Regions from separate parts of the Homo sapiens genome. Here region 1 is linked to region 2. Evidence: promoter capture Hi-C in 16 types of primary human blood cells and fetal thymus (Javierre and others, 2016). All regions are on one chromosome and are shown on one strand. Each heading gives the region's core, a stretch centred on a gene start or on the middle of the fragment in contact. The rest is flanking DNA. Distances are from core to core; before and after follow the strand shown. Region 1 overlaps SLMAP (sarcolemma associated protein). Region 2 holds the start of ASB14 (ankyrin repeat and SOCS box containing 14).

What was found. Contacts are between HindIII fragments. The CHiCAGO score rates a contact against its expected background, and 5 or more counts as called.
Region 1: a fragment that was not itself captured here is called in contact with the fragment with the promoter of ASB14 in region 2 in 1 of 17 cell types (total B cells); the score reaches 5.3 in total B cells.

Annotation. Positions count from the first base shown.
Region 1 is chr3:57,792,472-57,797,335 of GRCh38, forward strand. The region is part of intron 2 of SLMAP (sarcolemma associated protein); the gene reads left to right. Among named protein-coding and RNA genes, the nearest start is that of SLMAP, 39 kb to the left of the region's middle. The HindIII fragment of the contact is 168 bases long and covers 2,259-2,426 here.
Region 2 is chr3:57,291,325-57,295,920 of GRCh38, forward strand. ASB14 (ankyrin repeat and SOCS box containing 14) reads right to left here and starts at 1,361. Exons shown (of 11, transcript NM_001142733.3): 1 at 1,309-1,361; 2 at 588-780. The coding sequence starts at 709. DNAH12 (dynein axonemal heavy chain 12) reads right to left here. Exons shown (of 74, transcript NM_001366028.2): 73 at 4,201-4,268; 74 at 2,376-2,647. The coding sequence ends at 2,457. LOC124909384 (a long non-coding RNA gene) reads left to right here and starts at 1,467. Exons shown (of 2, transcript XR_007095923.1): 1 at 1,467-2,068. The HindIII fragment of the contact is 5,614 bases long and covers 962-4,596 here.

The sequences.
Region 1 (4,864 bases), core at 1,093-3,592, 500 kb after region 2:
TTAGTATTGAATAGGTTTTAACAGTTAGGTTTTATATTTTCTCTTTAGATCTCCTCAGTATTGGTTTTGTCTATTCTGTTTCACTTAAATTATATCTTCATCTATAGGGGATTTTATATTCTATATTGTGTGTTCCTTTAAATTGACCATGATGAATTCTGAGTGTGTAGGTATTTGTACCATTTAAGTCGTTAACTCTTTAGAAATGTATGGACTTATTTATATTTTTTATAATATTGACAGTAAAAAATATGGGAAATGTATTAATATGTTAAACATTTGACAACACAAGCAAGTTATGTGGGCTTTTTAATTTTTTTTAAAGAAATGTAAAAAGTCTGGGCTACATTATGTTTCCCAGGCTGAACTCAAACTCCTGGATTTGACCGGGTGCGGTGACTCACACCTGTAATCCCAGCACTTTGAGAGGCTAAGCGGGGTGGATTGCTTGAGCTCAGGAGTTGAGACCAGCCTGGGCAACATGGCAAAACCCCATCTCTACCAAAAAATTGCAAAAATCAGCTGAGCGTTGTGGTGCGCACCTGTGGTCCCAGCAACTTGGGAGGCTGAAGTGGGAGGATCACTTGAGTCCAGGAGGCCGAAGTTGCAGTGAGCCAAGATCATGCTACTGCACTCTGCCCAGGTGACACCCTGTCTCAATAAGAAAACCCAAAAAATCCTCTTGAGCTCAAGTGATCCTCCCATGTCAGCCTCCAAGTAGTTAGGACTACAGGCTTACACCCCTACACCCTGTAGGCTTCTTATGTCCTTCCAGTTTTTGAGGTTAATTCTTTTCTTCCCTGAAACTCTAGTTTTAGATCTCAGATATCAATGACTTTTTAAATTCATTAACATTTCATTTCTAGATATGAATTTCTAAAACATGTATGATATTTTATAGATTTCAAAGTGCTGTTGATTCATTTAGCTAACACTGAATACTTCTTGTGTGCTGAGCTCAATTCTATAATTGATAAAAGTTTCTGTCCGTATGGAGCTGACATTCTAGTGTTCAGTATACCATCATCTATCTTTCATCATTACCTCAGCCTATTTAGAACAAATGAGAGTGCTTCTGAAATATTGGCAGCAAATCCAGCATAATTAATTTGTCCTATTAATTTACTGTGTAATAGCAATACTTTCATACATTTCCAGAGTATTCTGGTTAAATTTTAGTTTTGTCCTCAACTACTAGCATTTGGTGAAATCTGCCCATATCTCCTTCAGTTTTATGAATTTAGATAATATATGTACCTTCTTAACCTTGTTCTTTTCTGATGGGTAAACCTTCGCTTATTTTTTAAAGCTGGTGCGGTGACTCATGCCTGTAATCCCAACACTTTGGGAGGTTGAGGTGGGAGGATCACTTCAGCCCAGAAGTTCAAGATCAGCCTGGGCAACAAAGTGAGAACTATCTTTCTTAAAAAAAAAAAAAAAAAAAATCCTGCTGGGTGTGATGGTGTATTCCTGTAGCCCCAGCTACTCAGGACTCTGAGATGGGAGGATCATTTTAGCTCAAGAGGTTAGGACTGCCGTGAGATGTGTTCGAGTTACTGTATTCCAGCCTGGGTAACAGAGAGAGAGAGACCCTTTCTTAAAAACAAAAAAACAGTTTTCTAAAGTCATCAGGAAACTTTTTAGATGAGTCATTCAGTGATTTAGTTTTGGTGGCTGTTCTTTTTATTTTCTCCCTATTCTGAAACTCACTTTCCTAACTTCTTTAGTGTGCATTTTAATAGAACTTTCCAAAATTCTGTTCGTACGCTATACTCTCCTGGTTCTTAATTTTCTGACAGTTTTGGCATTTCTATCTTTGTCTCCATGGTCTGTAGTTACCACAAAGACTTTGTCTTTATCCTTTGGCTTTTACTGTCCTGAGTCTCTTTCAAAAGTCACATACTTACAGTCTTATATTAACACTTATAAGCACTTCGTTTCAAAATTTATGTTTTTTTATGAATTTCTCAACCATTTTAGTTTGTTTTTACTTTTTAAGTGTACACTATAGTGGTCTTTAGTATATTCACAAAATTGCGCATCTATTACCGCTACCTAATTCTAGAACATTTTCATCACTCCCAAAAGAAAGTTTGTATTCATTAGCAGTCACCCCCCCATTTTCTCCTCCCTTCAGACCCTGGCAACCACTAATCTGCTTTCTGTCTCTCTAGATTTGCCTATCTGGACATTTTATATCGATGGAATGATACAACATGTGGTCTTTTGTGTCTGGCTTCTTTCATTTAGCATTTTCAAGCTTCATCTAAGTTCTAGTTTATGTAGGTATTGCATTGCTGGATAAAATTCCATTCTAGAGATAGCTACCACATTTTATTTGTCCATTAATCAGCTGATGGACATTTGAGTTTCTGTTTTCTACTTTCGGCTGTTATGAATAATGTCACTATGAAAGTTTGTGTACAAGCTTTTGTGTGAATTTGTGTTCAGCTGTCTTGGGTACATACCTTGGAATTGAATTGTTAGGTAATATGGTAACTCCGTGTTTAACATCTTGAGGAACTGCCAAAATGTTTTCCAAGGTGCCTATACCATTCCCACCAGGAATTTCTCCACTTCCTGGTCAATACTTCTTAATGTTGGTCTTTTTTGTAGCCATCAGGTGGGTAGGAAATGGTATCTAATGATTTTGATTTGTATTTCTCTAATGACTAATAATCTGATAATCTAATGACTAATAATTGAGCATCATTTCATGTCCTTATCAGACATTTGTATGTATCTTTTTTGGAGAAATATTGATTTATATCCTTTTGAAAAATTGGGGCCGTGCATGGTGGCTCACGCCTGTAATCCCAGCACTGTGGGAAGCTGAGGCGGGCGGATCACGAGTTCAGGAGTTTGAGACCAGCCTGGCCAGCGTCGTGAAACCCCGTCTCTACTAAAAATACAAAAGATTAACTGGGCATGGTGGCGCACACCTGTAGTCCCAGCTATTTGGGAGGCTGAGGCAGGAGAATTGCTTGAGCCTGGCAGGCAGAGGTTGCAGTGAGCTGAGATCACGCCACTGCACTCCAGCCTGGGCAACAGAGAGAGACTGCGTCTCAGAAAAAGAAAAAAAGAAAAGAAAAATTGGATTATCAGTTGTATATTCAGGATATAATTCCTGTATCAGATAAATGATTTGTAAGTATTTTCTCTCATTCTGTGGGTTGTCTTGGTGGTGTTGATTGTGGTAAAATATGCATAACATAAAATGTACCATTTGTACAATTTTAAGTGTACATTTCAGTGGCATTAAGTACATTCACAGTGTTGTGTAACTATAACCTCCATTTCCAGAACTTTTTCATCATCCCAAACAGAAACACTGTACCCATTAAATAATAACTCTCCCTTCCCCCTCCCCCAGCCTCTAGTAACCTCTATTCTACTTTCTGTCTCTAGGACTTTGCCTATTCTAGGTGCTTCAAATAAGTGGAATCATATAGTATTTGTCCTGATAGTATCTTTTAAAGTGTAAATATTTTTAATTTTGATGAAGTCCAATTTATCTATTTTTATTTTTATAAGTAATTTTTAGTAATTAAAACATTTTAAATTCATGTTGTCACTTGTGCCTTTGGTGTCATTTCTAAGAAGCCATTGCCTAATTTAAGGCCATAAACATGTATTTTAACCATTTTGAGTACTCTCTTACTTGGCTCTCCCTTCTATATTTAAAACATCCACCAATATAACTATCAAAGGTTTTATGGGAGGAGTTTTATTAAGTGTTCTGCTCTTTTTTGTTGTTGTTAAGATCAGAATAGTAGTTTTCAAACGGTAGAGTCTTCTGGGATGTTTAGTAAAATAAAAGTCCCTCAGCTGTTTTGTGTATTTGTAATAAACTTCCAGGAGACTTTGCATGATGTGGTTGAAAGAGTGTGGAATTAGGATAGTCTAGCCTGGTAATTAAGAGCATGGATCGTGGAGCCTGACTACCTGGGTGTGAATCGTGGCTGTGTCACTTCCTGGCTGATTTTGGACAAGTCACTTGTTCTCTCTGGACCTTCGTTTCCTCCCTCATAGGATTGTTGCAAGGATTAGCTAGGATATAGCTATAAAGCACTTAGAATATCTGCAAAGCACTTAGAACGATTTGGCAACAGTCACCATATAAGTATTAGCTATTATTATACCCTTTAAGTCACAGTAATGTCATTTCTAGAGACCTAATCTAAGAACATTATCAGAGATGTTACATAAAGATGTGTGTATAACAGTTTCATCACAGAGACTGATTATAAAATTAACCACATATAGTCAGTAGACATATGGTTAAATAAATTAATGAAATGTCATATAACCATTAAGTCACATTGTCAAAAATACTTAATGCCTTGGGATGATATCAGTGAAAATGTCAAAAATGCAACTATATGTAGAATATGTCTCTAAAATTTTTTAAAAATTCAAGGCAAGGGGCTGGATATGGTGGCTCATGTCTGTAATCTCAGCACTTTGGGAGACCGAGGTGAGAGATCACTTGAGGCCAGGAGTTCGAGACCAGCTTGGGCAATGTAGTAGGACCCCCGTCTCTATAATTTTTTTTTTTAAATTAGTCGAGCATGGTGGCATGTGCCTATAGTCCCAGCTACATGGGAGGCTGAAGCAGAAGGATCACTTGAGCCCAGGAGTTGGAGGTTACAGTGAGCTATGATTGTACCACTGCCCTCCAGCCTGGGTGACAGAGTGAGATCCTGTATCTTAAAAAAAAAAAAAAAAAAAAGCCAGGTGTGGTGGCTCACGCCTGTAATCCCAGTACTTTGGGAGGCTGAGGCAGGCGGATCACCTGAGGTCGGGAGTTTGAGACCAGCCTGACCAACATGGAGAAACCTTGTCTCTACTAAAAATACAAAAT
Region 2 (4,596 bases), core at 111-2,610:
GACCAAGGTTGCTGATTGGCCAGCGAGCGTGTGAGCAGGTGTGCCATATCCAGGACGATTCTTCTTACACCCCACACAGGGTCCCACTGGTCCTTTTTCAGTGTTGTCCAACAAAACTCTGAATCTACACTTTCAGAAGCCTTGTTCAAGTTTATGTAATTCCTCCTTTTGATTTGAGTAGATCAAAGACTGGACCCCATCCCCACCTACCCTACTAAGGTTGAAGATAACTAACTTTCTATGTGTCCCGGTTGGATTTATGCATTTCTTCAATTCCCAAAGACAAGATGTATTAGTTTTTCTCTAGCCCTTCATATCCTCCTTTCTTTCTTCTGATTTCCAGTCTGTATCACCTCACCCAGATTTGCTGCTAACCTCCTTCAGATATTTTTATTGCCTAATTAAATTCTGAATTATTTCCAGATTATTCCTGTCTAGTTAGGCATAATATCTTACAGATATTTAATTGACAGCTCCTTGGATTCTGACCCTCCTGTTTTTGTCACAACACTAGAGTTAAGCTAATGACAAGTGTCAGCTGTTGAATACAACACTTAATACTATATTGCCGATGAGAAAACCATTACCTCTCATCCTTAGGTGCATGTTGTGCTGTTCCTGGCTTATAAATATCCTGCAAACTCTGTTGAATGATGAGCTGGGTGTCAAAGTCTTCATCTATGTCTTCATCGCTGGTGTAATTATCCATGTGAAACGTGGACAGGTTTACTTTAAAGTCAGAGTGAATTAAAAGTATTTTTCCAGTTGTGAAGAGATCAACTGCTTAAAATTACAAATGAAATTCAGAAATCTAGAAAATTGGTAGGATTAACAATGAAAAATATACAAAATTTAGGAAACAAAATATTCACTAAAAAATTTCTATAAACTTAAAAAAGTTTTGTGGACTGCCACAGATTCAACAAAAATTAGAAGTTTCCATGAGTAGCCATTGACTTAAAGCTTATTCAGGAAAAACCACCTTTCAAATAAGACTTCGGTTAGTGCCACTCTAACACTGACAACACTCTGATCTGTTCAACTTGGCTGTGAGTCTTTCACAGTGATTGTAGCACTCATCCAAAATAATATCTTTCCTACACACAGTGTGATGCTGAAAATAATATTTTACTTAATATACATTAAAAATAAACATGTTATAGGAACAAATGTATTCTCATAATTACAACATGGATACAGCAGTAGTAAAAACAAATGTATCTTACTAGGCAATATCTAAATGGTTTTAAAAGAAAAATGTCAGTTTTAGCATAGAATACATTTGGTCACATTTCAAAGACTTTTTACCTTTTGTTTTATCCTCTAGGACAGCAGTGAAGTTTTCACTGTTAAGGACTAACACATGTAAGCCTCAGAATTTTCATTTATATTTAGGCTCTCCTCTCCCCTGTAGTGACCATTCCATTAATAGCTTTACTATAAATACTTCATCATAAGACAGTTTGGCACATTCTCCTTGTTTTTTACATGTGGTTTAGCTCTTTTTGGAAACATGATCTCTTTTCTTCAGTGCTACATTCATCAAATTTAAAGGATTAAATATTTTATTCCTGGAATAAAATGCTTTTGCAGGGGGTTGGCCATGCAAAGAGAATTCATGCACATAGCCACTGCAAACCACAATCAATTTTTCACTTAAGAGAACCCAAACATTTTGCTCTGACCCAATTATCCAAAGTGACTGTCCCAATGTACTAGATTCACTAGGTAGCTGTGACTACATTTTCCTTGGGTTACAGAACTGTGGCCTTCAGTGTCCTTGGAATCCTAAGGGAAGAATTCACTCTACACAAGATAAAATTTTGATCAAAATTCTGTTTTGTTGAAATATTTTTAAATTGTTAATATACACTAAAAAAAGCAAAGGGACCACTTGACATTTCAAATTAAATATGAAGCAAATGCCGAGAAGCACACTGTCACTGCAGGTGTAGAAGTTCGGACTGCCCTCAAGCCATCCTACTGCCTTTGCAGGCCAACTTCGCAGCTTTGAGTTTCCTTTCCTAGTCACAAGGATGCAGTGAGAAATGGAACCGATGTCTTAGAGGTAAGAAATAAAGAGGTATAGTTGGGTAACTTTTAATATTTTCCATATTTATAATTTCTTAATTTATGTATTTGAAATATTTATGTATAATTACTTTAGGTAGGAGAGTGGAAAGTAAACTATACTGAAGCTGAAGGAATGACTTAACATTTGTGAAGGAGATAATTCCTGATATTTGTTAAATGTTACCGTTTAACCCCCAAATCTATTTTTCACATACAATCAAACTTCAAAAAGTTCTCCTCAGAAAGGAGAACAATGCAATGAGTGTTTGCAAAGATCATTTAAAAGAATAACACCAAAACACTTGGTTTTATAATGTATATATTTTAAGTAGGACAGGTTTTTTTTTTTTTAAACTTTTGGATGTTTTATAAATTTGTCCAATTTAGTCATCCAACTGACAAAGCAAAGCAACCCCGCGCTTGATCCAGTGCCGAGTAGGTTGGTCTGTTTTTAACAACATTGCAATGACAAAGTTAGTAGAATGTCCCGTAGTGGAAAGAGTTCCTTTACGTTCACTTGTCTTGTAGAGGGGACAGACATAGGCATCCGACTTTATAATCCGAGATTTTTGAGCTTGAAAAAAAAAAAGAAATATATTCACTTGATAAAGGGAAAAACAGCCATTGGTACGAAAAGAACTATTTATCTTGTAATAAAATGGCCAGAACTAAATCTAAGATCATAATTGTGATATATGAAGGTTTTACAGCATATATATTTTTTTACAGTACATATAGTATTACGGTTGTGAAACAAGGCAAGTATTTCTTTTCTTTTCTTTTTTTTTTTTTTTTTGGAGACTGAGTCTCACTCTGTCACCTAGGCTGGAGTACAGTGGCACAATCTCGGCTCACTGCAACCTCTGCCTCCCAGGTTCAAGCGATTCTCTTGTCTCAGCCTCCTGAGTAGGTGGGACTACAGGTGCCTGCCACCATGCCTTGCTAATTTTTGTATTTTTAGTAGAGACGGGGTTTCACTATGTTGGCCAGGCTGGTCTTGAACCCCTGACCTCGTGATCTGCCCGCCTCAGCCTCCCAAAGTGCTGGGATTACAGGCGTGAGCCACTGCGCCCAGCCCAAGGCAAGTATTTCGTATGGTGCATGATTCTAGGTGTGGAAGACAGGAATAGACTTTAAAGTTCTGACCGCTTAGCAGGCATGAGAAAACTCAAGAGGATTTGGGAGGGGAGAATGAGAAGGGAGGGAAGAAGGAATAAAATACAGTATAGGTAGTGGGGGAGACTCAAAAGAAGAAATACAACTGCTTAGAGCTCTAATCCAAGAAACCCACACATTAGAAGAAGCTGACGTTTCTATTTGTTTTTAGCAGGTAAATAATAAGAAAAACATGTCAACTCTTACCAATTCATGAAAAGAAACTATATACAATCCCCAAAAAGCCAGATATAAGATATTAAGAGTCTTTCCAAACTAAGGTCACGTTTCTCATAGTTATAACTGAACCACATTCGTAATGAGAATATTTGATAGGTTGGATGGTGATTCTGGGTGATCAGTAAATATTTTAAGAAATTGTTGTTATTTAAGAATTAAAAAGTTAGGGAAGAGAAAACAAAAGAATGAGACTTTTTTTTCCAGACTTGTAGAAAGATGATGATGGCAGAAGCAGGGGAGGAGCAAGCAGTTTCCTAAATGGGGCAAAATTGGCCCCCACCCCATGTGGCTAGCAACATCTATGCCTTGGGGGACCTGGCTGGCTCCTAGGCCTAGCAGTTTCTTATAGCCAGAAAATGCTAGTCACTAGCGGGAGACTGTGTCAAGCTAATTTGTGCCTCTGAGCAATGTGTAAAGGGAATTCAGAATCAAAATATGGATGGGCAGCTGTTCAATCTGTGAACCCCCTTGTAGAAGTGGGGGGAGGGGCTGAAAAGAATGACATATCCCATAGGCTACGATAAAAAAGCAGCATGGTATTCCCAAAATAATATAAATGCCATACACACAAAGAGATAATAATAATTTCTAATGTAAATGTTCTATTAATGTTTATTATAATTGAGCTAGATCCTAAAAGGTTTGAGCAAAAACTTATTTTGGGGAGCAGTGTATAATATCCATCCTTATTCTCCCTAAACTTCAAATAAATTTTGTTGAGAGAATATTTACTTGGTTTTATCCATATGATGGGCATCAGGTCAAACAGAAGTTTGGGATATTGTTCAGCAAGCAATCCACTGTAACGAGAAATTGACAGAAATTATTAGAAATAACATGAAATTCACTTCTGAGAACAGATTGCTACTTAGATATTGGCTTTTACTAAAAGAAAGGACTAGAGGCATAGAGAAAAAGAAATGTAAAAAAAGAAAATGAGAAAATGGCAATGAAGAATTGAGAGAAACAAAAGACAATGATGGAAAGGCAAAGGGTAAACAGTGGACACATATGAATGTCTGCCAATTTTTAATGATTGTCCATGTGGCCAGGGCTCCAAGGGAAACTTTGTCTCCTTTTCTCTATCCCATATATTTTAAACAGGAATAGTATTGCTTAATTTCCTGA